Regions from separate parts of the Homo sapiens genome. Here all the other regions are linked to region 1. The links are contacts of gene promoters, found by promoter capture Hi-C in blood cells and fetal thymus (Javierre and others, 2016). All regions are on one chromosome and are shown on one strand. The core of a region is centred on a gene start or on the middle of the fragment in contact, and the rest is flanking DNA. Distances in the headings are between cores, read along the strand shown. Region 1 holds the start of SMTNL1 (smoothelin like 1). Region 2 overlaps P2RX3 (purinergic receptor P2X 3). Region 3 overlaps CTNND1 (catenin delta 1). Region 4 overlaps ZDHHC5 (zDHHC palmitoyltransferase 5).

Evidence for each region. Contacts are between HindIII fragments. The CHiCAGO score rates a contact against its expected background, and 5 or more counts as called.
Region 2: a fragment that was not itself captured here is called in contact with the fragment with the promoter of SMTNL1 in region 1 in 3 of 17 cell types (M0 macrophages, activated CD4 T cells and naive CD4 T cells); the score reaches 8.8 in M0 macrophages.
Region 3: a fragment that was not itself captured here is called in contact with the fragment with the promoter of SMTNL1 in region 1 in 3 of 17 cell types (activated CD4 T cells, naive CD8 T cells and neutrophils); the score reaches 7.4 in activated CD4 T cells.
Region 4: a contact is called between a fragment that was not itself captured here and the fragment with the promoter of SMTNL1 in region 1, in 2 of 17 cell types (neutrophils and M0 macrophages). The highest score is 6.7, in neutrophils.

What each region holds. Positions count from the first base shown.
Region 1 is chr11:57,535,564-57,542,407 of GRCh38, reverse strand. It overlaps SMTNL1 (smoothelin like 1), which reads right to left and starts at 4,813. Exons shown (of 8, transcript NM_001105565.3): 1 at 4,766-4,813. The HindIII fragment of the contact is 14,036 bases long and covers 1-5,893 here.
Region 2 is chr11:57,349,966-57,357,131 of GRCh38, reverse strand. P2RX3 (purinergic receptor P2X 3) reads right to left here. Exons shown (of 12, transcript NM_002559.5): 8 at 6,234-6,370. Among named protein-coding and RNA genes, the nearest start is that of P2RX3, 15 kb to the right of the region's middle. RefSeq lists an enhancer at 6,804-7,166. The HindIII fragment of the contact is 563 bases long and covers 4,903-5,465 here.
Region 3 is chr11:57,779,642-57,787,091 of GRCh38, reverse strand. All of the region lies in intron 1 of CTNND1 (catenin delta 1), which reads right to left. The region is part of intron 2 of TMX2-CTNND1 (TMX2-CTNND1 readthrough (NMD candidate)); the gene reads right to left. Among named protein-coding and RNA genes, the nearest start is that of CTNND1, 22 kb to the right of the region's middle. RefSeq lists enhancers at 2,336-2,836, 6,603-7,450. The HindIII fragment of the contact is 3,687 bases long and covers 2,098-5,784 here.
Region 4 is chr11:57,699,446-57,706,785 of GRCh38, reverse strand. ZDHHC5 (zDHHC palmitoyltransferase 5) reads right to left here. Exons shown (of 12, transcript NM_015457.3): 12 at 5,604-6,920. The coding sequence ends at 6,755. It overlaps MED19 (mediator complex subunit 19), which reads left to right. Exons shown (of 5, transcript NM_001317078.4): 2 at 1,557-1,813; 3 at 1,971-2,067; 4 at 2,390-2,484; 5 at 2,680-3,076. The coding sequence ends at 2,748. Among named protein-coding and RNA genes, the nearest start is that of MED19, 9.1 kb to the left of the region's middle. RefSeq lists an enhancer at 1,452-2,651. The HindIII fragment of the contact is 1,747 bases long and covers 3,485-5,231 here.

The DNA of each region.
Region 1 (6,844 bases), core at 3,564-6,063:
TGGCTTTGGCTTTAAAGAACATTGAATCACATAATGCCTTTTCAGTCATGTTGCCTCTTTTTGATTAAGCCACTGAGGTGGTCACAATTTTATTGTATTATTTATTTTTTGAGACAAGGTCTCGCTCTGTCATCCAGGCTGGAGTGCAGGAGCACAATCTCAGGTCACTGCAACCTCTGCCTCCTGGGGTCAGGTGATCCTCCAACCTCAGCCTCCTGAGTAGCTGGGACTACAGGTGCTTACCACCACACCTGGCTAATTTTTGTGTGTGTGTGTGTGTGTGTGTGTGTGTGTTTTTTTTTTGTAGAGATGGGGTTTTGCCATGTTGCCCAGGCTGGTCTCAAACTCCTGAGCTCAAGCAATCCACCTGCCTCGGCCTCCCAAGGTTCTGGGATTGCAGGCATGAGCAGTGCCTGGTCACAGTTTTATACTGGCATCCTAGAACACCTATGGAACAATTGCTACTCTCCCCTGAGAGCCTAGGCAAGCAGAAGTATCTAGATAGAATTGAATAACACCATTTTGTTTCCATTGTATTTATTTTTACAGTTACTTTCTATCTCTGGTAAGTGATACTGAGTTTCCATTTCCAACAGTGATACAGTGTCTTTTAAAAATACATTTACTGAACTTAAAAATAAGTTGATTCAAAGGAAGTAATTCAGGAAACTGGAATATAGGCAGTGCAGATGTAGCAAAATTATAGAGGTGGTGTATAAAAATGGCTGAAATTTGGGAACCCCAGGGCCAACTGGTCTCTGGAGCTTTGCCAGCTCTACCAGCCTGTGGTTTTTGGAAAAGGTGGGCCTGGGCAAGGAAGCGTTTCCTTGAGTGAAGAATGGAGCCGTACTCTCCCTGGCCTCTGCTGAGCAATCTGACTCTCCAACTGCCCCCGGGAGCATGGGGGTAGATTATGACATCTTAACTCGGAGTTTCCTATTTAAGTACTGTATATACTGGAGGATCTACAAAAACAGGTGTGTGGGGGCCCCGGGTTAGCTCCTTCATGCTCCTGCCCTTTTTGGGGGGTGTAGTTACAAAGAAAACAATCCCCAAATAGGGCTCAGGGCATGACTCAGGCAGTAAGAAAAGTGGACACTCCTGTCACACACTAAAAATACCCCCTGCCCTTGGCAGTACCATCTTTCTCAGTGATAGTACCGAGGGCACCTGGGTAATTGGGCAGAGGACAGGAGGCAAGAAGACAGGGATAGGGCTTTTTTCCCACCACCCACTGGGGTCTTACCCAGAGTCCTGGGGTTCCTGAATTCGATGCCCTCACTATTTCCTAAAAGTAGGCTGGGATTTGTAAAGATGCTCACACTGTCCTCTGATTCCTGCTAGAGCCCCTTCCTGGTTCAGCGGCTCCAGCAATGTCTTAAAGTAAGAGGGAAGATGACGCCGGGCATGGTGGATCACACCTGTAATCCCAGCACTTTGGGAGCCCGTAGCGGGCAGATCACAAGGTCAGGAGTTCAAGACCAGCCTGGCCAATATGGTGAAACCCCATCTCTACTACAAATACAAAAATTAGCTGGGTGTGGTGGCAGACGCCTGTAATCCCAGCTACTTGGGAGGCTGAGGCAGGAGAATTGCTTGAACCCGGGAGGTGGAGGTTGCAGTGAGCCGAGATCGCGTCACTGCACTCCAGCCTGGGCAACAAAGCGAGACTCCGTCTCAAAAAAAAAAAAAGAGGGAAGATGAGCCAGGGGGATGGACGCACATCAGCAGAGATGCCGGGAGGTGTGAAGTTGTGGAGCTGGCTGTGACCTGCATCTTCCAGTCCCCACTGAGACCTGAGCAAGTAGTTTTCCCTCTCTGGGCCTCAGTTTCAACTGACAATGATGGGGTTCATCTGGATCAGGTTCTCCACATTGTGTTCTGTGGAAAACTAGGGTCTCCCGTGACATGGATAGGGTTTTCTGTGGGGTTGGGAGAAAGGATATTCTCTGGCTAAGGTTGCTCCACAAAAAAGCCTACTCTTTACCCTCTTAGAGATATACAGTTTCAGCCAGGCGCAGTGGCTCATGCCTATAATCTTAGCATTTTGGGAAGCCTAGGTGGGAGGATTACTTCGGCCCAAGAGTTCAAGACCAGCCTAGGCAACATATTAAATTCTGTCTCTATAGTAAGGAAAATAAAATTAAACAAAACAAAACAAAACAAAAACAGATATATAACTTCATTAGCATTTAAATAGATTTTAGAAACCAGATAGTCAAGAAACCTAAACCTTGCTTAAACTTCATTTAACTCACTTTTTTCCAAACCTATTTGACCATGACTTTTTTTTTTCCTCCCTTTGTTTTCTTTTCTTTTTGCTTTGATTTTCCCTGAGGAGCATCTACCACTCTCTCTAGCAGCAGAAGAAAGCATGGCAAATGCTGGTCTAACACAATCCCTTCCCCTCTTTCTCTCTGCTCTTGTTTGGAAGGTGACATGGACTAGCAGTGAAAATCATTGATTCTGGTGTCTTCCTGTGATGGGATCTCAGCTCCCATGGGTTACTAATTGTGTTAACCTTGAGCAAGCTATCCATCCTCTCTGTGTTTTGATTTCTGCAGACAACAATAGGTCCCATCCCATAGGGATGGTGGAGGATTAAGAAAGCCCATGCTTAGAAAATATCTGGAGCCAGACGTGGCGGCACATGCCTGTGGTCCCAGCCACTCAAGAGGCTGAGGCAGGAGGATCACCTGAGGCCAGGAGGTCAAGCAGTGCACTATAATGATGCCTATGAATAGCCACTACACTCCAGCCTGGGCAACAAAGTGAGACCTCAGCTCTTAAAAAAACAAAACAAAACAGGATTCAGAGGCATGCTTGGCATGAATGAGTACTCAGCACCCATCAGCTCGTATGATGTGGGTTGGCTGTGCCCAGCCCTGTGCCAGGGCAAGGTCCTGACCCAGCCTTGAGGGCATTTATCAGTGAGTCAAGGCAGAGAGAACTGAATGCCAGTAGGATGATAACAAGCCCTTTTTATACCTCAAAGTATGACACTATTTGGCTAAGACATAGCTGAGTGCTCCAGTCATCTTTTATTTTTAAGAGACAGGGTCTTACTCTGTTGCCCAGGCTGGAGTGCAGTGGCTCAATCATAGCTCACTGTGACCTCTACCTCCTGGACTCAACGGATCTTCCCACCTCAGCCTCCTGAGGAGCTGTGACCACAGATGTGCACCATCACACCTGGCTAATTTTTTGTTTTTTATTTTTTTTATAGAGATGGGGTCTCGCTATGTTTCCCAGGCTGGTCTCAAACTCTTGGCCTCAAGTGAACCTCCTGCCTCGGCCTCCTAAAGTGCTGAGTTTATAGGTATGAGCCACTGAGACTGGCCGCTCTAACCATCTTTCCTTCTGCCTACACGCTGCATACTTAGGGTGGTGGAGGGGAAGGGTAGGTGCACGCACACGGACACACACCTCGGCTATCCTGCGTGTTTATCACCTCAGCTTTCCACCCTCCAGGCTTGTCACAAATAGAAAAGGAGTGAAGATGCTCAGAATGCTGAGAAACCAGGACGCCACCACCCACCCCCAGCATTCACAGCCCTACAGCAGTTTACAGCTTATGCTGCGGAGGCCCTGCTTTCTCTTGGTCATTTCTTGCTCCGACCCTTCAGAATAGGTTATTGGCCCCATTAGGGAGCCAATGGGGATTTCAGGCTCAGGGAGTTGAAGTCCCTTGACTAAAGTTATAGGACAAGTGGCCTGGCTCTCTATCTAGAATCCAAGTATCCCAACTTCCACTCCAGAGCTCACATCAAATATATGCTCCCACTAGCTCCGCAGCCCAGTGTCCCTACAAAGGCCCTGGCCCAGAGTGGGGGCACCCCACCAGTTGGGAAGGGCAGTCAGATTCAGCCGAGGAGTTCCTCCCTCTTTCTTCTAGGTGCACAGTAGGCCCTTCATGAAAGTTTCTCTGCCCCCACCTTCCTTTCTTATTCTCTCCTTTCCTTCCTCCTTCCTTCCCCAGGAAGTCTCCAAACCATCCCTGTTTTGTGTCCAAAGCAGCACTGCAGATATCTCCCCTCCCTCTCTCTTCCTGTTTCTTCTGGCAGACCAGGAGGAAAGGGACCCAGGAGCCCAAGATCCAAACTCCCAGTAGTATAAACACTGGATGTTCTGTGGTGCGTCTGCCACCCACTGCAGCCTCATCTGTCATCTGGTTGTCCTAAGGCTTCCACCTTCCCCACTCAGCCAGGGGCCCTCCCTTGGAGAGGCCGACCTCAATTGCTTAGACTAGGGGTATCCAATCTTTTGGCTTCCTTGAGCCACACTGGTAGAAGTAGAAGTGTCTTGGGCCACATGTAAAATACGTTAACACTAACGATAGTGGATGAGCTAAAACAAAAATTGCAAAAAAAAAAAAAATCTCATAATGTTTTAAGAAAGTTTATGAATTCATGTTGGGCTACATTCAAAGCCATCCTGGGCCACAGGTAGCCTGTGGGCTGGACAGGCTTGGCTTAGACAGTCTACCCCCCAACCCAGTTTGACTCTTGAGACTCCCAAGGTCCCCTCCCCTGCTCTGTGGCCTCCTCGTGGATGGCCACTTGCAGTCTGCTCTGTAGGTGCTCTGGTGCAGGGCTGAGACCCCAGGCATCTAAAGAGAGTAGACATTGTGGTGGAGAGAATTAGAAAGGAGCCTGGATTTCTCCAAATGGGGGGCCCTCCTGGGAGGCTCTGGCCCTTGGACAGTGGGAGTGAGAATTGGCAGATGGGGAGGGACCCTTAGAAAGGGTGCCAGGGCTTCTCCTACCTGTGGGGCTTCTGCCTGTGGCTTGGGAGCTGTCTCTTTGCTCCAGCTGAGTGGCCTCACTCCCAGGCTGCCTTTAAGCCCCAGTGGCCTCTAGCCCCCAGCTCTTTGGTCCCGCCTCCCCCCTTCCTCTCCCTCTTCCACCCCACCCCCACTTCAAGAGTCTTGGGCTGCCTGAAGAGCATTGTTTACTGGCCTGTTGGTACAACACTTTACCCTAGACTGGGAGGCTCGGATTTCCCGTGGAAGATCTGACAGGTGGCACCTTTCAATCACGGCACGTCCCTTCCGCCCTGAGCCTGGCAGCATCCGTCCTGTGGTCATCTTTCTCCCCAGTGGACTCTCCTAACCCTAGGGACCTTGACAACCATCTTCAGGACTCATTTAGAGCATGGCCCTGGCCTCCACTGCTCATCCAGAGCCCAGGCGAGGCCTCTTGTGCTCCCTTCACACCCACCCCGCCACGTTCCTTACATAGCCCCTTTCCCTCGTCCTCAGACAAAAGCAGCTGCTTAAGGCTGGGCTAAGGAGGGGGCGAGTAGGGCAGCTGCCAACACAGGGGATGTGTCTTGGGGCTCACAGTTGACTGAGAGATTTGGAGGGGGAGGGGCAGAGAGGGCAAAAGTGATGGGACAAGCTGACGGATCACTGGACGGAGCCTGGAAAATACAAAACTCCTGAGTTCTATTTTGAGCTGAAGTGACAGGTACACAGTAGGCTCTGAACACATTTTTATACTGAACTGACATTTTGCTAAGAAAAAAACAAAACAAGCCTGGGCATGGTGGCTCATGCCTGTAATCCCAGCACTTTGGGCAGCCGAGGCGGGTGGATTGCTTGAAGCCAGGAGTTCAAGAACAGCATGGTCAACAGGGTGAAACCCTGTCTCTACTACAAATACAAAAATTGGCCGGGCTTGGTGGCGCATGCCTGTAATCTCAGCTACTTGGGAGGCTGAGGCACGAGAACTGCTTGAACCTGGGAGGCAGAGGTTGCAGCAAGTCACTGCACTCCAGCTTGGGTGACAGAGACTCCATCTCAAAAAAAAGTCTTCACTTTCTCTGTGTGTTTTACAATCTAAGAAAGGCACTACTTTTGGAGAATGGGTGCAGAGGACACTCCCACGAAGCTTGGGATCCCCCCCAGTCCTCCTACCCCAAGCCCCACCACTGGGCCACACTGGCCTCCTTCCTATTCCTTAAATAAATCCATCCCTTTTCAGACTCAGGACTGGTTTTTCCTTCTACTCTTTGTAAGACTGCCTCCCTCTCATTCTTCTGGACTTAGCTGAAATTTCATTCCCTCAGAGAGGTTTTCCATGACCTTCAATTCCTCTCCCTCATTTCAGCAGTTTTTATTGTCCTCATAATACTAAATCTAAAATTACCTTATTCATTTCCTTATTATCTGACTCTCTCACTAGGCTTTAAGCTCCATGAGGGCAGGGATTTTATCTACCATACTCATGGCTGTATGCCTAGATCCCAGCAGAATTGCCTGGCTCATATTAGGTACTTGATAAATACATACTGAATGAAATAACTAATTAATTAACAGAAATATGACAGGAACTTGGAGGTCTTGCCCGGGATGATCTGAAAGAGAGATCTTTCTGTGCATCTAGGTTTGGGTACTAGTCATGAAATAGTCCAATATTAATGGTTGCCAGCCGGCTCTAGTAATACTTGAAACCCGGCTGGGATTATAGGCATGAGCCACCATGCCCAGAGTATTTTGCTCTTTTCAATATCTAATGACAGTAGGATAAGAGAAATGAATTTAAACAAAAAACCAGCAAGCCAGAGAGAGATGTGGAAAAACTCGCCAATCTTGGGCAGATATACTCTGGATGGATGCTGTTTTGAGAATAAAGTGAAGAAGCATGGATAGAAGTGGGGAGAGCAGTCAGGAGACAAACTCAGTGACCCTGGTGCAGGATGGTGGTGGCTTGGACCACAGTATCAGCCATGGAGGTAAGAAGAAGTGATGGGAAACAGTAATAGTGCAGACAGTGATTAAGCCAGGGCCAGCTTTTTCTTCAAGTGAATAGAATGACGTAAGCCATTTCATCACAAGGGAGGT
Region 2 (7,166 bases), core at 3,935-6,434, 190 kb after region 1:
TTGGCCAGGACAGTCTTGAACTCCTGAACTCGTGATCTGCCCGCCTTGGCCTCCCAAAGTGCTGGGATTATTACAGGTGTGAGCCACCACACCTGGCTCTAAAATGTTCTCTCTTCAGGGTCAACAAGATAATCACACAGAGAACCTGCTAATTCTCTGGCTCACTGGTAAGTGTTCAATGAGTGTTAGCTAATATTTTCTATGAATAATACTGGTTGCTGTGAGAATAGGGTAGACATGAACATGATAAAGGGCTATCTAAATCCAAGATCACTCTAATTGCATCACTTCCACTGAAACCTAAAAATGATGAAGAAAATGGATTATGGAGAATTCAAGCAAGTACACTTCCCATGGAAGAGGGCCTTCAAGTGTTTCTGTGGAAATGACGGTGCTGGCTGCTTTTAACGCATATTCTATGGCTTTTGGAAAGAGAAAAATCCAGATTGTAGAGAGAATGATCAAAGCCAAGGGTGCACTTCGATTCTGTCTCTGTCAATTGGCCTAAGATCTTGCTGATCCACACGTTTCTGCCTGGAAGCAGGACAGGCGCCAAATCTCCGAGCTTCATGAAAGCTGCTGTGGGTACATTTCCAACATAAAACGATCACTAGAAACACCTACCGCACCAGGAACATCTAGCAGCTGAACAAATGTTTTTTTGTCCCAGACACCAAAAGAGGAAATCCAAAACTGCGTTGCCTTTTAGTAGCAAAGCTGTCTTAGGAACTCTCAGAGGAGAAACAAGAAATCAGGCATTTTGAAATGCAGTTTCGATTCTCTCCCGTCAATCACACCAGCCATCACTACCAGGTATATCTCTTAGAGCTATTTTTTTTTCCCCTTTTTTGCAGGCCATGTGATGGCGCAAGGCATGCTGGAAGCAATGGATATAGATCAAATCCCTGGGTTTGAGTCCTGATGTGCCTCTTAATTAGGCTGTATAATCTCAGGCAAGTTTTGAAATCTTTCTGAGCCTACCTTGGGGGTGGGGGAAGATGGTGAGCTGTGATCTGTCAAAAATAGGTGTGAAAGGGCTTTGCAAACTTAACTCTAGGGCTCTTAATCTGAGGTGCAGGGATAGGCTTTCATTTATTATTTATTTTTTAGAATTTTTAATCTTATTTTTGTAGAGAAGGAGTCTTGCTATTGCTGCCCAGGCTGGTCTCAAACTCCTGGCTTCAAGGGATCCTCCCGCCTCAGCCTCCCAAAGTGCTGGGATTACAGGCAGGAGCTTCCACACCTGGCTACGGGATAGGCTTTTAGAGGGCCTCAAAGTCTTGGAATTTTATGCTGCATAAATATAAATGCATAGAATAAGAACTGGAAAGAAACTCATTAAACCGTCCCAGATGTTAATTCCCTGCAAAGGGTGCAGGCCTGGGGGAATGAAGGGGACTTCCCATGTCATTACTTTGTATATATCAGTATTGGTTGGATTTATTACTCTGAGAATGTATTTGTATCTTATTTGTAGAAATGAAATAACCTGGCTAGGCGTGGTAGCTCACGCGTATAATCCCAGCACTTTGGGAGACCAAGGTGGGTGGATTACTTGAAGTTAGGAGTTCGAGACCAGCCTGGCCAACATGTTGAAATCCCGTCTCTACTAAAAATACAAAAATTAGCTGGGCGTGGTGGCGGGCACCTGTAATCCCAGCTACTGGGGAGGCTGAGGCAGGGGAATTGCATCAACCCGGGAGGTAGAGGTTGCAGTGAGCCGAGACTACTGCACTACTGCATTCCAGCCTGGGCAACAGAGCAAAACTCTGTCTCAAAAAAAAAAAAAAAAAAAAAGAAATAAAATATCCTTTAAGAAGAGAACTTGCCTGTGAATTTTCTCATGTCTATGAATACATGCATCTTCCTTGGACAATGGTCCCCATTTTCATCGGGGGCATAAAGCAGTTAGAGACCTCTGAAAGTTAAGGAAGGGCTGTAATTTCACAGATGAAAGTTGTCAGGACTTGTCCTGGACATCTCTGCAGGTGCCCCTCAGGTCCGTGCTCCTCCCTTCCTCGCCCTGCCCTGGGCTGCCTCAGTGGGCCACTTTGCCTCAGCTCTGGCTTCTGGTGGGGCTCTCCTGAGTCACAGCCACATGTCAGGCTGTCCTCTGCTCACAGCTCTGTCCGTCTCCATGTTCCTGTCACTGCTTCCTCTCCTCGCCTCTTCAGACCTGGGTGGTAACCAGTGTCCTGTTTCTGGCCCTGGCACTGCACTATCTGTGTGGTTTCCGTACACCCTGCCCACACCTTTGAAACAGTCCCTTTATTAAACTCTCCTCAGATTACCCAGTTAGAATGTGCCATCTGTTTCCTGCGGGGACCCTGACGGATACAGTATTTTTAATCTGTCATTGCACCATCAATGCCTATACACTCACGCACACACACACACACTGACACACTCACTCTCAGCCTCACACATTCACCCACTAACAAATACACCCACTCTCACGAACTCGCATGTGCACACACACTCACACACACACACAACATCACCTGTTCCCAGGACTTTGGGAAATATAGTACTCTTGTTAAAATCCTGCTCCTGTGAATTGAGGGTCTACCTGGGCCTCAGAAACCTTGCCAACAGAGAAGAGAGCCTCCTGAAGAACTGCAGGGCTCTGCTGAGGGCGCCTTTCACTTGTGCAGCACTGAACTGGTGACTCTCAACAGTTCTTATTTTTAGAAATTGCTGCATTTTGTCTGCTAGAAATCCAGATGACCCCACCAACTGCAATCTCAGTGTGCTTAGAAAGAGGCTTCATAAAAATACTAAGTTAAAGCGGCCCACGGAGTCTTTAGCCACGCAGAACAGACCAAGGAGTAAAAATAAAATGTCTCCACTAAATTTCAGGTAGGGGAAGAACAGAATCTTTAGGGGATCACAAAAATAAAGATTAACTTGCATGGACAGCACCAAGTACACTGGAGAGGATTTAAAGGGAGGCACATTTTGGCTCAATTTGAGGTCACCTTTCCAATGAATGGAGCAGGCCACTTTGCTTGCCACGGAGATCAGATATCCCCCAGTGTCAGGGTGATTACATGGGCCTGTAATCTCTTACATGGGTCCGTAAACTCCTTTAAATCACAAGGGTCACATTAGGAGTTGAGATCCAATGACCTTTGAGGCTACTCTAAGATGCCCCCTTTGGAACTTCCGCTTCCTCATCTGTAAAGTGACCGCCTTACTCTGGGTGACTGCAAGGGGAACTTCAACAGCTATAAATTCTCAAAATCTCTGATTCTGCAGGCAAAGAGCTACAAAAAATAGGGGCGGGGGGGGGGGAGTGACATTTGGAAGGGAGCTGCGAATGTAATTAGTGATGGAAATGTGAATCTCTAGCTGCCTCTGGATGTCTTAGTTAGCAGATTCAAACACGGCCGAATCTTGGCTGAATAATTCCATTCCCTCCAGAGCAAATGGCAACAGTAGGGGTGTTGAAAAATCTGCCTCTGTTGGAGGGAGCAGCAAATGAATTGTTTGGGAGACAAAAGGCCGGGCTATGAATTGTGCTGCCAGCATCTGCTAGTCTTGAAATCTCCTTGGAACTTAGATTCTTTGTTTTTAAGCTGGGATGAAAGTGTCAACCACATAGGCATGCTTTTTTTTCTGAGGATTAACAAGTACAAATGTCCCTAGTCTTCCTGGCTGGGGTGGAGATCATCCAAAGAAATATGTTTTGAATCCAGGCTCCCCCTCTTGCTTGCTTTGTGACTTTGAGAATGTTATTTAACAGTGAGACTCCATCTTCTCCTTTATAAAGTTGGGGGGGATATTGTAGCATCTACTTCGTAGGGCATGCAAGGAATGCTGAGCTGAAGCACACAAAACGTTTTGCACACAGGGTGACTAGTATGGTTTCTACTGATAAGTAGCTTGGTGAGATTCTAAAAAACAGCGTACATCTTACCATATCATAGAAAGTGCACTGTGACCCGCACTGAACCTGGCTTTGTGACCCTTTCTCTCTTATTCAAGCATTCAGAAAGACAGCTTTGCAGCCTCCCACACGTGGGCTCTTAGCTTAGCCTTGGGTGCCAGTAGTTTGAGGTTGCATGAGGGTGGTGGGTGGGCACCCAGGTGAAGGGATGGGAAGGGGCTTGGGCAGAGCCCTCTGCTTGCCACTGATATCAGATGTCCCCCAATGTCAGGGCTATTACTTGGGCCCTCTGGAAACTTTTAAATCACAAGGGTCAAACTAAGCAGCTTTGCCTCCTTCTTCTCTGGCCTGGGGGACTTTGTTGGGGGAGTCAATTATCTGAGATCCTAAGAGGGGGTGGTTTCTCTTAGGCCTCTGGGAATTATGCAGGCAGGGTCTTTGGGGATATTCCGTCCTGCCTCCCCAAATACCCTCCAAGCTTATTTAGGACCAGGTCTATCCCGCATCCTTCTGTGCTCAGGTGGGGAGGGAGGGAAGGCAGCCACAGTGCAATAAATTGGAGATAAAGAACTCCAGACCAATTCTTATTTAGATGAGAGATGCTGTTCTAAAACTGTACGATATCAGTAGTTGGGGGTCTTTATAATATTCACATTCTTCATAAGCTTTTCTGCCAAATGAGTTATTTGGAGGATTAAAGAATTCCCAATGGCCAAAGGGAAGTTATGAAGATGAAAACTTGCATTTTAGATCATGAGAATTTTATTAATATGTTACTATTTTAAGCCACCATACAAATATCCTTTGTATTGATCTCAGTGTGATATACCAACTGAATAAATATGCCAATTTCTGCCAGTGAGCCGCACAGTATTTTTAACCTACTTTAAAATATGTGTTGTTTCCTATGGTTTTTTTAAAGTTTGGAGTTGATGATGAAAGTACTTCAATTTTTAAAGATTCTTCTTTCCAGAGAATATACATGTATATTTTAAACTATTAAATATAAAGCTTAATGGGGTGGGTGATTATTTTTTTAAGTTATAAATTAACAATTTTAAAAGGTGAAATGATTATTTTTGGCTTACGTATGCCATTGTATCAGAGAATACCACCTCAACAAAGGAAATTTGAGTAACATTTATTTGAATATATTCAAATATACATTCTTATGTTCAAATGTAAATGAAATATATTCTTATGTATTTTTTTCCCCTGGTCACTCCCTATTTGTTCTATTTAAGCTGTTTAGTGTATAATGCTGTGTACTTAAACAGGGCCCTGCCAGAAACTTCAGGATCTTCAAAAACTGGGGGAAATCCACAATGTATACATGTATCAAAACATCACATTGTATCCCATATATATGCAATTGTTATTTATCAATTAAAAAGAAAACAAAACCTTTAATAAGTAGTGTTGACCTTGTAGTCTACACTTTGAGAACTGCTAACCTAAGATAACTGAGTACGGTCCTCAGCACGTAGTAGACAATTGGTATGTGTTTAATGGATGAATCAATAAATGAATGATTCAGAAAAAAAAGAAGAGAGAAACAAAACAGAAAGCTGAAGCTTTTCACACATTGGTTAATTGAATCCTGAAGATCACAGTGGTACTATCACAATTTCATAGGTGGGGAAATTAGGATGGGAGAAGACAAATGGCTTGTTCAAGCGCTTTCAGTTGCTTCCAAACAGTTTGTCCTCTAATTCCTCTCTCCCTTTCTTCAAAATGGAAAAACAAAACAAAACAAAACCCGAAAAGATCCCTGAAGTCTCAAAGCCATTGGGATGATATTTAAAGACTGGTCTGAGTTCTTGTTTGGAGAGGCATTGAAGAACCAGAGACAATTATAATTGCTACTGGTGACACACGTTTGCGGAGAGAAATGCAAAGTTGCCATCTTGTAAAATGTAAAATGATACCAGTTATCACCCTTACTTTGTAGAGCGAGAAACCTTAGAAAATTCAGGCCCAGGGCAGGGAATGGGCCTATCTGGAAGTCACTTAAGCACGTCACAGTTTCAGGCCAGTGTTAGGAACAGGCAAAGAATCGCAGAACCCTAGCATTTCAAGAGACCTTGGCCCTCTCTTCTAACTACTGACCTGCAGCAGGAATCCTTGGCGTGGTCCCCTTCAGTGATAAGGAGACACTGTCTCCCAGGACAACCAGCTAGATCCTAATGGCTGTTAGAGAGTCCTTCCTGATTTGAAATGAAACCTGAGGTGGGACTTGGGGCCAGGGGTGGGTGGATGGATGTGGGATCTTGTCTCCCCAATAAACATTGCCGTTAACAGCCCGCACCTTCTTCTCCTGGTGTCCCAGGAGACAGGGAATTACCTGAAGTTGTAGCCTGGGGACACGCTGCTTTTCTCAGAAACGCTGTCGAGCCGGGTGAAGGAGTATTTGGGGATGCACTGGTCCCAGGCCTTGTCCAAGTCGCACACCCAGCCGATCTTAATGCCCAGAACTCCCCCCTGAAGAAACGGGCCGGGTATGAGCTTTCCCCTCGCCCTCTGACTCCCTGCTCTGGGCCAGGGTGGGGGTGGGGTGGAGGTGGTGACAAATGATTTCCTCCCATCCTCCAGGTGGGAGACGGAGGCAGGGAGAACGGAAAGTGACATGTCATATACTGCTCAGTAAAGAAGTGCTGTGGTGGCCGGGTGCGGTGATTCACGCCTGTAATCCCAGCACTTTGGGAGGCCGAGGCGGGCGGATCACGAGGTCAGGAGATCGAGACCATCCTGGCTAACACGGCGAACCCCTGACTCTACTAAAAATACCAAAAATTAGCCGGGCTTGGTCCCAGCTACTCCGGAAGCTGAGGCAGGAGAATGGCGTGAACCTGGGAGGCGGAGGTTGCAGTGAGCCGAAATCGCGCCATGCACTCTAGCCTGGGAGACAGATCGAGACTCTGTCTCAAAAAAAAAAAAAAAAAAAAAGGTTGTGGCTCGGATGCGAACATTGGAGCCTCTGAGTCCTAATTTTGGGATCTTCAGTGCTTTAGCTACAACACAGGAGAAAGTGGCCACAGGTCTACTTTCCCGTCGTTTGGGGCTTATTACAGATCTAAGGCCTTTGCCTGAGGTGAAGTGTGAAGATGGGAGTGGGAAACTGAGGCTTGAGGAAGGTGGACTCGGCGGAGGCGGGGGGCAAGATCGCTCTGCGCGGGGAAAGCAGAAAGGATTCAGGCACAAAGCCAGTGGCGGCCTGGGATGCTTCCACCAGGTGGCGCTGTCTCGCGGCGGCTCCTGGCCAGTGCCGGCCAAAGGG
Region 3 (7,450 bases), core at 2,692-5,191, 250 kb before region 1:
AACCCTAAGGAAGTTTTATTGCAAATAAGACTCATGGGTGAAGAAACTACCCAAGGTCTCACAGTTAATAGCAAATTTTGAATTTAAACCCAGGTCTATGCCATTCCAAAGCCTGTGTTCTCTTTCTATGCCATGGTGTCAAGTCCAAATAGAAGTGCAGTCAGTACCAGATGGATGGTCCAGAGCCTCTCCTCTACAACCTTTGAGAGCTTTCTTCTCAACTATCACAGGAAAACAGGGAAAGAAAAGGGTTCTACTTTGTTTTTTTAGGCTCAAGAGTTACCCATAATATCTACATAGAAGTGAGAAAACAGAAAAAAAATGGGAGGAAAAGGAATGTATGAGTGGGGAAAGAATGAAGCTGTTAGGCAGGCTACAGTAAATGGTCTCATCGCTTGGAGACTTAAGGAAAAAAGATTCTTCTCATGCCATATGCATCAAAAAGATCACACTACAAACCTTCAGCTGACTTTGGCAGACAGTCAGGAGTCGTAATTACAAGTCCAGCCCAATGCCTTTCCAGCTTTGCCACTTACATTTTTTATTTATTTATTTTTTTGAGATGGAGTCTCGCTTAGTGGCCCAGGCTGGAGTGCTGTGGTGCAATCTCAGCTCACTGCAACCTCCACCTCCTGGGTTCAGGCGATTCTCCTGCCTCAGCCTCCCGAATAGCTGGGATTACAGGTGCATGACACCACACCGGGCTAATTTTTTGTATTTTTAGTGGAGACGGGGTTTCACCGTGTCAGCCAGGATGGTCTCGATCTCCTGACCTCATGATCCGCCTGCCTCAGCCTCCCATAGTGCTGGGATTACAGGCGTGAGCCACGGCAGCCGGCCTCCACTTACTTAGATTTTTAAATAGACTACATTTCCTCTCACCAAAAAAAAAAAAAAAAAATCAAAGAATTCCTGAAGTCAGGGGGTTGAGGAAACATAAAGTGAAACTTGTTATTCCCCCTTAAGACTAGATTTTCTGAGAATACCTAGTTTTACTCTCAATAAGCCATTAAGTCCTACATTACTGGATCCCACCCACACTAGAAAGATATTCCTGCTATTACCCAGAGTCCATAGTCCATAGTAAAGATCCTTCATCCAAGCAATGATAATGATAAAAACTCAGTCTCGTCTGTAAGAACTCCCAACCAAAAGAAGTTAAATTAAATCAAATACCCAGAAGGACCAAACAACTAGACAGTGCTAACCAGATAGGAGGTCCAAAAAACAAAAAAATCACTTACCGGCCGGGCGTGGTGGCTCAAGCCTGTAATCCCAGCACTTTGGGAGGCCGAGGTGAGCGGATCACAAGGTCAGGGGTTTGAGACCGGCCTGACCAACATGGTGAAACCCCGTCTCTACTAAAAATAAAAAATTAGCCAGGCTTGGTGGTGCACACCTGTAATCCCAGCTACTCAGGAGGCTGAGGCAGGAGAATCACTTGAACCCGGGAGGCGGAGGTTGCAGTGAGCCGAGATCATGCCGCTGCACTCCAGCATGGGTGACAGAGCTAGACTCAGTACCCCACACACACACACACACAAAAAAATCACCTACCAATAGCACAGTCCCTGGAATGATTTCTTCTACTGTAAACTGACTAAAGAAATACAATTTGGAATTATGATTCTTAAGAGGTTAAGTGTATAGGCTTTGTTATCTGCCTGGGTTTAAGTATAAGATCTATCCTTATTAGCTATATGACTTTGGGCAAAGTATCAACCACTCGAAACTGCAGCTTCCTTTTTTGTAAAATGGAGGAATAAAAATACACAGGGTGGTTGTGAAGATTAAATGAGGCATTTCATGTAAAGTGCTTAGAAAAATGTCTTGACGCACAGAAAGCCAGTAATATTGTTACTACTACAGGGACTAGAGCTTGGGTGTGGTTGGTGGAGTTTTTGAAGTTTGTAAACCAGCCTCCCCAGGCTCCCCTCTTTCATTTGCAGCAGACCTGAAAACTACAGGAATTATTCACTTTTAGAGGGAAAAACAAAATAAAACTCCAGATTAGGGGTCAAAAGACTGGGGGTCCAAGTCTTGGCTCCTCCAAAAACTAGCTAGGAGACCTTGGAAAAGTTATAACCCCTGTAAGCTTCCATTTCTATTACTCTTCATGGTTTAGTTTTAATGAGCTAATATATATAAAACCATAGCCTATGTGAACTCTGAAGTTCACCAATCTTTGGGTTTTTGCAAAAATAATTTTGTCTTCAGAGCCAGTCTCAAAGGCAGCTCTCCTCCTTTCTTCCTATTTATTCATTATAAAATCAAAACCAATGTCATGGCCGGGCACCACGGCTCATGCCTGTAATCACAGCACTTTAGGAGGCTGAGATGGGAGGATCACTTGAGTTCAGGAGTTCGAAACCAGCCTGGTCAACATGGTGAAACCCCATCTCTACTTAAAATACAAAAAAATTAGCCGGGCATGTTGGCACACACCTGTAATCCCAGCTATTCAGGAGGCTGAGGCAGGAGAATCACTTGAACTCAAGAGACAAAAGTTTCAGTGTGCCGAGATTGTGCCACTGCACTCCAGCCTGGATGACAGAGTAAGACTCTGTCTCAAAAACAACAACAACAAAACGAGTGTCACAAATTTATGCTCTCCATCTAAAAACAATGACAGGCAAAACTCCATTTCCATGTCGTTCTAGGGAATTTTTTTTTTTTTTTTTTGAGACAGGATCTAGCTCTTGTCGCCCTGGCTAGAGTGCAGTGGTGTGATCACAGCTCACTACAGCATGGACCTCGTGGGCTCAAGCAATCCTCTTGCCTTGGCCTCCCAAAGTGCAGGGATTACTGGCATGAGCCACTGTGCCCAGCCATTCTAGGGAATGCAAAGGGCTTTTTTCAAAAGCACACTGGGCTGGGCAAAGTGGCTCACACCTGTAATCCCAGCACTTTGGGAGGCCAAGGTGGGCAGATCACTTGAGCCCAGGAGTTTAAAGATCAGCCTGGGCAACATGGCAAAACCCCACCTCTACAAAAAAATTACAAAAATTAACTGGGCATGGTGGTGCACACTGTAGTCCCAGCTACTCAGGAGGCTGAGGTGGGAGAATTGCTTGAGTCTAGGAGGTCCAGACCACAGTGAGCCACAATCACTACATTGCCACCTGGGCGACAGAGTAAGACCCTGTCTCAAAAATAAATACGTAAATAAATAAATAAATAGCATACCAAGCCTCCTACTGCAGAATACTAATCAACAAAATATAGCACCTGTAACACTACAGAACTGTATTACATAACATTCAAGCCAGAAAGGGGCCCTTCAGATACCTAAAAGGCATTTATTTGCCTTAACTGGCACCTGACCCCAAATTTGAAGAAATATTCCGGTTCAACCACAAACAAACTTGCCATTTTGTTTCTAAATCAAAGAAATATATTTTGTCAAGATTTTCTATGGCTTTTTTTTTATTTTGAGATGGAGTCTCGCTCTGTCACCCAGGATGGAGTGCAGTGGCGCGATCTCGGCTCACTGCAAGCTCCGCCTCCCGGGTTCACAGCATTCTCCTGCCTCAGCCTCCCCAGTAGCTGGGACCACAGGCGCCCGCCAACACGCCCGGCTAATTTTTTGTATTTTTAGTAGAGACGGGGTTTCACCGTGTTAGCCAGGATGGTCTCGATCTCCTGACCTCGTGATCCACCCGCCGCGGCCTTCCAAAGTGCTGGGATTACAGGCGTGAGCCCGGCCTTTCTATGGCTTCTTATCAGTGCTTATACCAGAGTCCAAAGTCTAAGTACCCCGCCCTACCTCCACTTGATGTTCCACGTTTTTTTTTGTTTGTTTGTTTGTTTTTGAGATGGAGTCTTGCTCTGTCGCCCAGATGCAATGCCGTCATCTCGGCTCACTGCAACCTCCACCTCCCAGGTTCAAGCAATTCTCCTGCTTCAGCCTCCCAAGTAGCTGGGACTATAGGCATGTGCCACTATGCCTGGCTAATTTTTGTATTTTTAGTAGAGACACGGTTTCACCACGTTGGCCAGGCTGGTCTTGAACTCCCGACCTCAAGTGACCCACCAGCCTTGGCCTCCCAAAGTGCTGGGATTACAGGCGTGAGCCACCATGCCCAACCATGTTCCACCTTCATGCTCAGTCAGAACAGTTCTAGTATTTCTCACTTCACTGGGAAGACTCATCTTCTGTTAATTCCAAGTCCCTGAAGCTGATTTGCGTTAAGATTAAAAGGACTGTGCTCACTTCACAATCTCAACTGAGCACTACTCAAGTCACAAAACCTGTATTATTCTGGATATGGCCTTCTCCTAGTGTTCACTCTTTCTATGCTTCCTCATGGATCTGCTTCCTGCTAGGCCCAACTTCTCCATTTAGAAGTGTTAAATCAAGTTTAGCCTAGGCAAGTTTATGCCTCCTTACATCTTTTAAGTTTGGCCTAAAGATTTATCTGTACATAATGAACTATAACCTAAATGGTGGTAGAAATAGACTGTAACCTACTCTTGTGCCAATCACTGAGTTTTGGCCACTCAAAGGGGGCCAACTGTTCCAGCTGAGCCATAACCAATCCAGCTGTTTCTGTACCTCACTTCCATTTTTTGTTCATCACTTTCCTTTTTCTGTCCATAAATCTTCTACCACGTCTGCACTGGAGTCTCTGAGCCTACTGTGGCTCAGAAGGCTCCCCAATTAGTGAACTGTTCTTTGTTCAATTAAACACTGTTAAATTTAATTTAGTTAAGGATTTTATTTTAAAAGAGGGTAAAAGGCTGACCAAAGAAGTCTTATTTTCATGAGGAAAAACTAGGTGTCCACCAGGAATCTCTCTGATGAATTAAGGAAGGCTCTGGGCAGACCACCCTCCTCTTAGGAAAGAGTGATACATTCTCTCTGATTGGAACGTCAGAGAAAAGAATTTTTTAAAAAACAAAGATATAAACAAGATAATACTCCTTGTTAAAAGGAATTTGAGCTGGCAACCTCTATACATCAACAGGGTACCTTAAACTCCCTTTAGTCTTATAATCCTTACCCAAAGCTACCTGTCAATATTTAAAGTTTTTACTGCAACTTAAAAAAAAAAAAATCACCTCCACCATCATGACCTCCTAAATTCTGAGACCAAATAAAACATTCTTCTTTTTCTCTCTTTTCCCCTCCCAAGTATTCTGAGAACCCCCTCTAAACCATAACATACTAAAATGGCTTAGTGCTGGGCTGGCTTTGAAGCCAAGGAAGGGTGTGGCTCTCAGCTAGTGAGGGGGCCCAGGACTGAAAGGGTACAGAAAGAAAAAAACCTGCTTCTCTGTGGAGCATGCATGACGCACACACAGGACTGGTCTAACAAGTCCTGATCTCTCAGGCCAGGCCGCCTCCTTCTCCTCCCCCATTATCCATGTGCCTCTCCAAGGCCCTCCACTGGGACAGTTCACACTGAGTTTTCTCTAATCCTGAGAAGAGACTGAGTTACTTACCTGGATCCCTGTGCAACCTTGCCAAAGACACCTCACCTAGCCTTAAAAGGAGAAAGCAGGGCTTTAGGGAGAGGCCGATAAGGAAACAAAGATAAGAGGGAGGGGCAAAAAAACAGAGGAAGGTGTTAGACTAAAGGAAGGGGAGAGGCCAAATGCCTTTCTCCTTCCTACAAGAGGAGAGAGATCAGGTACACTATGAAAAATAAGAAAAAGCCTCATTGAAATGCAAAGGTATTGATTAGGTCTCATGTCATAAAAGAGAAATCCTAAAATTAACTAAGACACCTTATATCCTTCCATACCCTAGACTCGGAAAAAAAAAATATTCATGGAAAAGCTTAACCTTAGAGTTTACTAGGGGTCACCCAACTGTTTGAGCTCACATTCCTTTTTTAAAATAGCAGCTTCTCGGCCAGGTGCGGTTGCTCACGCCTGTAATCCCAGCACTTTGGGAGGCTGAGGCGGGTGGATCACCAGGTCAGGAGTTTGAGACTAGCCTGGTCAACATGGTGAAACGCTGTCTCTGCTGAAAATACAAAAATTAGCCTGGCGTGGTGGCAGATGCCTGTAATCCTAGCTACCCGGGAGGCTGAGGCAGGAGAATCGCTTGAACCCAGGAGGTGGAGGTTGCAGTGAGCAGAGATTGCGCCATTGCACTCCAGCCTGGGCAATAAGAGTGAAACTCCATCTTGAAAAAGAAAGAAAGAAAGAAAATAGCAGCTTCTCACCAAACTTTCAATCTATGGCATTCCCCCACCTCTTTGCCCATCATTTGAAAATAACTTGGAAAAGGTGGAAGCATGTAATTGAGCCAGATTTACACAGTCCCAATTCCTCAAAACCCTGAAAAGACCAATAAGGCATTCTTTTCATCAAGTTTGGAGTATGTCTTCCTTTTGAGATAAGCAACAGGGAGACAGAGCATGTCAATCTATAAATAAATCAATCAGAAGTGTTAAGGTCCTTTCTTGGCTTTAGGACAGATAGCAGGAGGAAATGTTTCTCCTTATCTGAAAGAAGAAAATCCCATCTTGAAGGGGAAGAAAGTTGTGCATTATTGCTCTTCCCCTTGAAGTTATCATATAATCCTTTCAACACCTGCTGAGGTAATGGCCTCTTTTTATAAATAAGTATACTACCTATATACCAGAAGTATTTAGTATCTTGCCCAAGCTCATCAACTAGTAGTAAGTAGTGAAAACTCCTATTTTATTCCAAGTCCATGCTCCTTCTTGATAAAGTGGAAAGAGTATGAATTTTCTATGTTTCCTGGGGTTAAAAGTCATTCTTCGGGCCAGGAGAGGTGGTTCAAGCCTGTAATCCCAGCACTTTGGGAGGCTGAGGCAGGCAGACTGCTTGAGCTCAGGAGTTTGAGACCAGCCTGGGCAAAATGGCAAGACACCATCTCTACAAAAAATACAAAAAATTAGCTGGGGGTGGTGGCATGTGCCTGTAGTTCCAGCTACTCGGGAGGCTGAGGTGGGAGGATCACTTGAGCCTGGTGGTTCCAGGCTGCAGTCAGCCAAGATTGTGCCACTGTACTCCAGCCTCAGTGACAGAGTAAGACCCTGTCTCAAAAAAAAAAAAAAAGTCATTCTAGTTCCAATTAAGAAGTTAACCCAAAGTTGACATTTTTTTTACGGAGAGGGGAAGGAGGCAAGAGAAGGTGGAATGGAGCCAGCTAGACTTTTGGGTCTTATCTTCACTTTAAAGAACAAAACCTTACTCAATTTGGGAAGAGTAGCTTGCAGCCTACTTCAGATTTACCTTCCCTTTTATAAGAACCTAGTACTCAGGAGGAAAGGTGCTAAGAACAAAAGAGGCACTACTCTGTAAAAATTACCTACCTTACCACTGGCAAGCCTGCTCTAGAAAGCTGGCTACATGTCACATTCTCTGATCACCCCCTCAACCCTACCACAAGAAAAAAAATCCAATCCCTACTCTCATTTTTAATGTGACATCTCACTAAGCCAAAAGCAAAGATCAGAGATGGGGTGGGAAA
Region 4 (7,340 bases), core at 3,109-5,608, 160 kb before region 1:
GTTGCCTGACTTGTTTTTTTGTTTTTGTTGTTTTGTTTTGTTTTGTTTTTTTTGAGACAGGGTCTCACTCTCTCACCCAAACTGGAGTGCAGTGGCCTGATCTCAGCTCACTGCAACCTCCGCCTCGCAGGGATTACAGGTGTGTGCCACTACTGTCCAGCTAATTTTTGTATTTTTAGTAGAGACAGGGTTTCACCATGTTGGCCAGGCTGGTCTTGAACTCCTGACCTCAAATGAGCTGCCCGCCTTGGCCTCCTGAAGTGCTGGGATTACAGGCGTGAGCCACCGCGCCTGGCCATTAGTTGACTGACTTCTAATCAAACATTTCTTCCTGGATGCGTGCTGTGGCTCACACCTGTAATCCCGGCACTTTGGAAAACCGAGGCGGCGGGGGGTGGCGGATCACTTGAGGTCAGAAGTTCAAGACCAGCCTACTCAACATGGTGAACCCCCTTCTCTACTAGAAAAAAATTAGCCAGGCATGGTGGTGTGTGCCTGTGATCCCAGCTACTTGGGAGGCTGAGGTGGGAGAATCACTTGAACCTAGGAGGCGGAGGTTGCAGTGAGCCAAGATCGTACCCCACTGCACTCCAGCCTAGGCGACAGAGCAAAACTCCCGTCTCAAAAACAAAAAACATTTATTCCTTTTAGGCAAGGCATCATACTCAGTATCACGAGGAAGAATAAAGATGTTGGTAACAAGTTAGGCAGTGGTAGCTAGAAAAAAATCTCCCAGTTCTTTTCTTATGTAAAGGTGATTAGTGTTTCTTGCTAGTAAAAAAAAAAAAAAGTCCTTGACAAGACCCTTAAGTCACTGGGTCATATTTGGCCCCCTGAGCATGGTTGTAGCTGAGCTGCAAGGTCGTATTTTCCTAGCTGTGTCAGAGAATATAATTTTTCACTAATACATTTTATGAGAAACACTCAGAACAGCATTTACCACGAAGCAAGCATCATATAAATCAACTCCAGTTAATCTTAAGAGAGTGGAGTGTCTCCTTCATTGGGCTAGAGCAGTTCCTGTCTCTGCCCTATTGGATTTTTGCCTGTTTTTCCCCTTCCCATTGGAACCTACCATTGTGTTGTATTATACTTTTCATGTTATTTACTTTTGCTGTTTTTTTTTTTTTTTTTGAGACAGAGTCTCGCTGTTGTCCAGGCTGGAGTGCAGTGGCGCAATCTCAGCTCACTGCAACCTCCACCTCCCGGGTTCAAGTGATTGTCCTGCCCCAGCCTCCTGAGTAGTTGGGACTACAGGCACGTGCTACCACGCCTGGCTAATTTTTTGTATTTTTACTAGAGACGGAGTTTCACCGTGTTGTTAGCCAGGATGGTCTCGATCTCCTGACCTGGTGATCCACCCGCCTCAGCCTCCCAAAGTTCTGGGATTACAGGCATGAGCCACTGCATCCGGCCTGCTCTGTTTCTTTAAAAATAAATTTTAAATTTTAAAATCTGCACTTAAAAAATGTCTTATTTAGGTTAATATATAGTCCTTCACTCCCTGGGTCTACTTTGAAGACTGATCTTTTTTATTTTTATTCTGCGTTGTCTAGGTAGCACAGAGCTGACAGGCAGCACGAATCTGATCACACACTACAACTTGGAACAAGCCTATAATAAATTCTGTGGGAAGAAGGTGAAGGAGAAGCTAAGTAACTTCCTGCCTGACCTGCCAGGGATGATTGATCTGCCTGGTTCCCATGATAACAGCAGCCTCCGCTCTCTCATTGAGAAGCCCCCTATTCTCAGTAGCTCTTTCAATCCTATCACAGGGACCATGCTGGCCGGCTTCCGCCTCCACACTGGCCCGGTGAGTCCTGTTGGAGGAAGAAGGCAAATGGGGAGGCCTAAACATGGAGATGGTTTTTCTCTCCAAGTCTGTTCCTTCATAATGGAGCAGAATGGATGATAAGAGCAGGAGAGATTTCCTCCCTCTACTCACCTGGACCTTCCTTTGGTTCCTTCAGTTGCCGGAGCAGTGTCGTCTGATGCATATTCAGCCTCCCAAGAAGAAGAATAAGCACAAGCACAAACAGAGCCGTACCCAGGATCCTGTCCCCCCAGGTAAGAAGCAGTTCTATTCAAAGCAAAAAAAAAAAAAAAAAAAAAAAAACCTGACCTTCTGAATCTGGTTTGAACTTCCATAGGTAAACCCAGTTAAGTTCCGTATGGAGCTCTGGACTCCTAAATTCCCCTGAAGAAGAAACCAATGTACTGTGGTCTCTTGGGACTTGGGACAGGGACTCTAGCAGCACCTCTGTATCCTTTCTGGCCATTTGGACAAAAGCAGTTGCCCCGACTTGGGATTTTCCTGTAGTCTTCAGTGGTTCATAACAGTAGAGGATTTTGAGCTTTACAGGTGATAGGTACCTAATGTCTCCTACAGAAACACCATCTGATTCAGATCACAAGAAGAAGAAAAAGAAAAAAGAAGAGGATCCTGAACGGAAAAGGAAGAAGAAAGAGAAGAAGAAAAAGAAGGTAGAGTAGAGGCCTATTGCCACAACCCAGTGAGTTTCCCCAGATCTCACCCCTGTCCTAAATACCCTAGAGTTCTTTGCCTCAAGTTGGACCCAAGATTGAAAACCCAAGGCAGGTTGCAGGTTTCTCCTGTACAGCCTGATCAAAGCCAAGGCTAGTTCCTAGTTGTTCTTACCCTGCTTCTTTCTCCCCCAGAATCGACATAGTCCAGACCACCCAGGTATGGGCAGCTCCCAGGCCAGCAGCAGCAGCAGCCTACGCTAATAGGACCACTGGACTCTTTGCCAGGATGGCTTTTCCTGCTGTACTGAACCTGCTGATAAAAGCTGCCTTCCAGGCTCTTGGACACTGCCTTGGGAGCATCCTGCAGCTGGGACAGAGGCCAGCTCCTGTTGGGCTCAGTTGAGACTAAGTAAATTAGGAGAGAGAGGGACATGCTTTTGTAGGCTCATCCCAGTTGGTTTTCTCATGGACATCTCTTCCTCTCCCAGGAAGCTTACAATTTTCTTCTCTCTCTTTTGTGCAATTTGTCTGATTTAGGACTTGTTCTGTGTTTTCTTTAAAAAAAAAAAAATTACATTTATCAAACTGGCTGAAGTGTGACTGCCTGTTAAGAGGTATGTGCCTTTCTGTGAATCAGGATTTAAGACAAGGCATTCCTAAGACTTGAGGGGATTTGGGTCTTGTCATTACATGATCTCACTAGCAGGCAGGGAACCAACCAAAATGAAAAGTGACCCAAGCTTACTAATACTCCACAGCAGACACGTAACACTCTGCCCATTATGTTGAGAACCAAGCGCCTCGGTGATCTCAGGCTCCATCTGAAGAGCTGATCCAGGTAGGGCTCAACAGTGTATTCTAGGTCAATTTTGTGTCGAAAGAGAATAGCCAACTGAAAACACATGGACAGTCACCCATGTGTTTCAACAAGATTGGTTCTTTAGGTCAGAAGCCTGTGATCTTTTGAGATGAACTTCTGGCAAGCAAAGGTAAAGCTTCCCTTCTCTTTACAAGAACTTTTGACCTGCTTCGGTCCTTAGTTAAGACAATAAAGTTATTTAGCTGATGTGAAAACATTTCTAAAACAGCAACAAAATGTAGCCTAAACCATCAAAATGTGAAAAACAAAAACAAAAAACACTTTTAGTTTTTCCAGCTGGTTAGGTAACTGAAAACATCCATGAGAAAACCTGAATTAATGTAATCTGACTTTAAATTTAACACAGTTAAAATCTGTTGCCGTGAAAGCCAAGGTTGTTCCTGAATCAGTGGGTGGAAAACCACTCATTCAGCTGGTTTAAATCCAGGATTTCAGAATAAGAGTTTGCTGGGTTTTTTTTTTTTTTTTTTTTTTTTTGAGACAGAGTCTTGCTCTGTTGCCCAGGAGTGCAGTGGCATGATCTCGGCTCACGGCAACCTCTGCCTCCTGGGTTCAAGTGATTCTTGTACCTCAGCCTCCCAAGTAGCTGGGACTACAAGTGTGCGTCACCACACCTGGCTAATTTTTGTATATATATATATATATTTTTTTTTTTTTTTTTTTTTTAAATTTTGGAGAAAGAGTCTTGCTCTGTCGCCCATGTTGGAGTGTAGTAGTGCAATCTCAGCTCACTGCAACCTGCACCTCCTGGGTTCAGGTGATTCTCCCACCTCAGCTTCCCAAATAGCCAGGATTACAGGCACCCATAACCAACGCCCAGCTAATTTTTGCATTTTTAGTACAGACGGGGTTTCACCATTTTGGCCAAGCTGGTCTTGAACTCCTGACCTCAGGTGATCCACCTGCCTTAGCCTCCCAAGGTGCTGGGATTACAGGTGTGAGCTACTGCACCCAAATAAGAGTATATATATATATATATATTTTTTTTTTTTTTTTTTTTTTTTTTTTTCCTGAGACGGAGTCTTGCTCTGTCACCCAGGCTGGAGTGCAGTGGCGTGATCTCGGCTCACTGCAAGCTCCGCCTCCCAGGTTCACGCCGTTCTCCTGCCTCAGCCTCCCAAGTAGCTGGGACTACAGGCGCCCGCACCACGCCAGGCTAGTTTTTTGTTATTTTTAGTAGAGATGGGGTTTCACTGTGTTAGCCAGGATGGTCTCGATCTCCTGACATTGTGATCAGCCCGCTTCGGCCTCCCAAAGTGCTGGGACTACAGGCGTGAGCCACCACGCCCGGCTAAGAGCTTATATTCTTAAATTTTGAGTAATTAAAGGGCTCTGGTCAACTGCTTGAGATTTAGTGTCTAAGGATACCTATTTAAAATTAGAGCACAGCTTTTGTCCAATAAAATGCAATATATCTAATTGAACTGACACCGATATCTAGTTAACCTGCCTTCAACAGGCTTTCATACCTGTTACTATGTCACCTTTGGCTGTTTCCAAAATTAGCTTTACTTTCCAGAGACTAAATCCTGTATTAAAAAACAACTGTAGCTGGGCATGGTGGCTCATGCCTGTAATCCCAATGCTTTGGGAGGCCAAGGCAGGATTGCTCAAGGCCAGAAGTTCGAGATCAGTCTGGGCAAAATTGGTTGAGAGTCTATCTCTACCAAAAAAAAAAAAATTAGCTAAGCATGGTGGCATGCAACTGTAAGTCCTAGCTTCACAGAAGGCTGAGGTGGGAAGATCCCTTGAGCCCAGGAATTTGAGGATATAGTGATCTGATTGTGCCACTGCCCTCCAGCCTGGGCAACCAGAATGAGGCCCTGTCTCTTGAAAGAAACAACTTTTAAGAGTTCTCTAAGCTTTCAAATAACAAGCAGTTTTGGTGATTTCAAGAGACCTTTTTTCAGGAATTTTTGAATTAAATCACCCAAATAAAAACAGGACCTGTTGTTTTTAGAAATGGAGTCTCTATGTTGCCCAGGTTGGTCTGGAACTCCTGGGCTCAAGTGATCCTCTTGCCTCAGCCTCCCTCAGTGCTGGGATTACAGGTATAAGCCACCGCACTGGGTCTCTTTTTTATTTTTTTAGTTGTTAAGTGGCTAATTTCATTATAGTCTTGCCTAAAGATGGGCTGGGACCAGAGAAGTTTATGAGGTTGTCACTGATAACTTCCCACCAGAGATCGTTCACCCTGTCTCAACCAGACAAAATAACACAAGTCAGGGGGCGCTGGTTAGATCAGGATTTCTTTTTATTCCTCGTTGGTTTAAAATGGCTAATCAGAATAAAAAATAAAAGGGCCTCTTTGTGGAGGCTGGGATCTCCCCTATTTAGAGGTTAGAACCCAGGTATCCCCTCTACCCAGCACCATAGTGAGGTGGGCTGAGGGGTAACCCCCAAGGGACAATCGGAGGGGCCTAGGCCTGCCACTCCTTCTCTCTATCCCCCGTTTTTGGCATGTGATGAAAAATATTGCTTTTTGGATTCTTCTCTCCTGGCCTTGGATTTTAAAATCAAGTTAACTGTGTAAGCTAGGGGAGGCTCCAAGGGGCCAGTAGGAGCACACTCTAATCCCTCTCCCCCAAGGAGGGGATTATCCAATATTGTTTGAGCTAGGCCAAGTTATTTTCCTGATCTCCCACCACCACCAGTGTCTTGAAGTTTTGACCCCTTTCCTAGGGAAACTAAATGCCAATGAGCCTAGAAAACTAATTCTCCTCTCCAAGTCCTTCCCTCTTGTGACCAAAATTCCAGACTCACCTCTCCCCAGGCTTCTTCCTAATCACACTTAGCACCAGCAGAGGATGCTATTTCCGTAGTTAGTAACTGGGACAAATGAGAGGGAACCACAGGAAAAAGACTGACGTCTCCCCTCTTTTCCTGCTGGTCTGAGGAATGGGAAGAGTAAGATCCCCCTCCGTATATGTATCCCTCCCTCATTTTCCCATCCCAGGATAGATATATAATTTCTTTGATATTTATAATATATATATATATATATTATATGTACACACACACCTGGTAACGCAGAAGAGGAAAAAAATAGAATCCGTAACAATAATAAAAAAAATTATTTCTGGTTTAAAAATGATCTGGTTCCCTCCAGGGCGAGCAATTGCACAAATGTCCACTGAGTCTGGTCCAGGGATCAAGGAAGGGAAGGTCTTAAAAGATAAAAGGGGGGGTTGCTACCCCAGTCTCAGGGCCCCAACTCTCCGACTCCCCAAGCCTACTGCATTTTAGAAAACACTCCTCATCCTCTTGGAATCGGTGGTTTAAAAAATGTCCATGCACGGGAGGGGAGCCCCTTGAGGGAAGGAAGGTGGCCACCTGGGGCCCTTTGGTGTAGGCGCAGAGGCGTTGGGGAGGGGAGGTGCCGAAGGCTCACACCGAAATCTCATAGGTGGTACCACCAACCCCTGACACCTTCTTGACTCCTCCCCTCGTGGGGCTACTGAGAGGTGGCTGGCCTGGGCCAGGGGAGGCTGAGCCTAAGCTCTTGGGCTGCCCGTTGGATTTGCTGTAGGTGGTCTTCAGCTGTACTTCATCTCTGGAAAGAAGAGACAAGACGTAGGTGTCAGGAAATGGGACAGAAAACATTGGAAAGGGAGACAGTTTCAAAGGTTCAGAGAAAAAAATGATGTTCTTTTCTATATCCATACTTTCTTACCCAAACATTCCCCTTTATTGCCCTGCTTAAAATAAGCCTGATTCCCAATCTCTCCTATGTACTACTACTCTCTAGTAACAGCTATCACATGTACTTACTCCCAAGCAAATACTTTTAGGAAGATAGCATTATGGAAAAAGTATTAATCTTCAGTCTCTTAACAGGAATTGCCCATGAAGGCAGGTAGAGTCAAAGTGAAAATAAAGAGCTACCAGGATACCCCTGGGTCCACCTACATTAGGATGTACAACAGAAGCCCTGATAGCTTTTGCAGAGCAGTATGCTAATTTGAAATTGGCT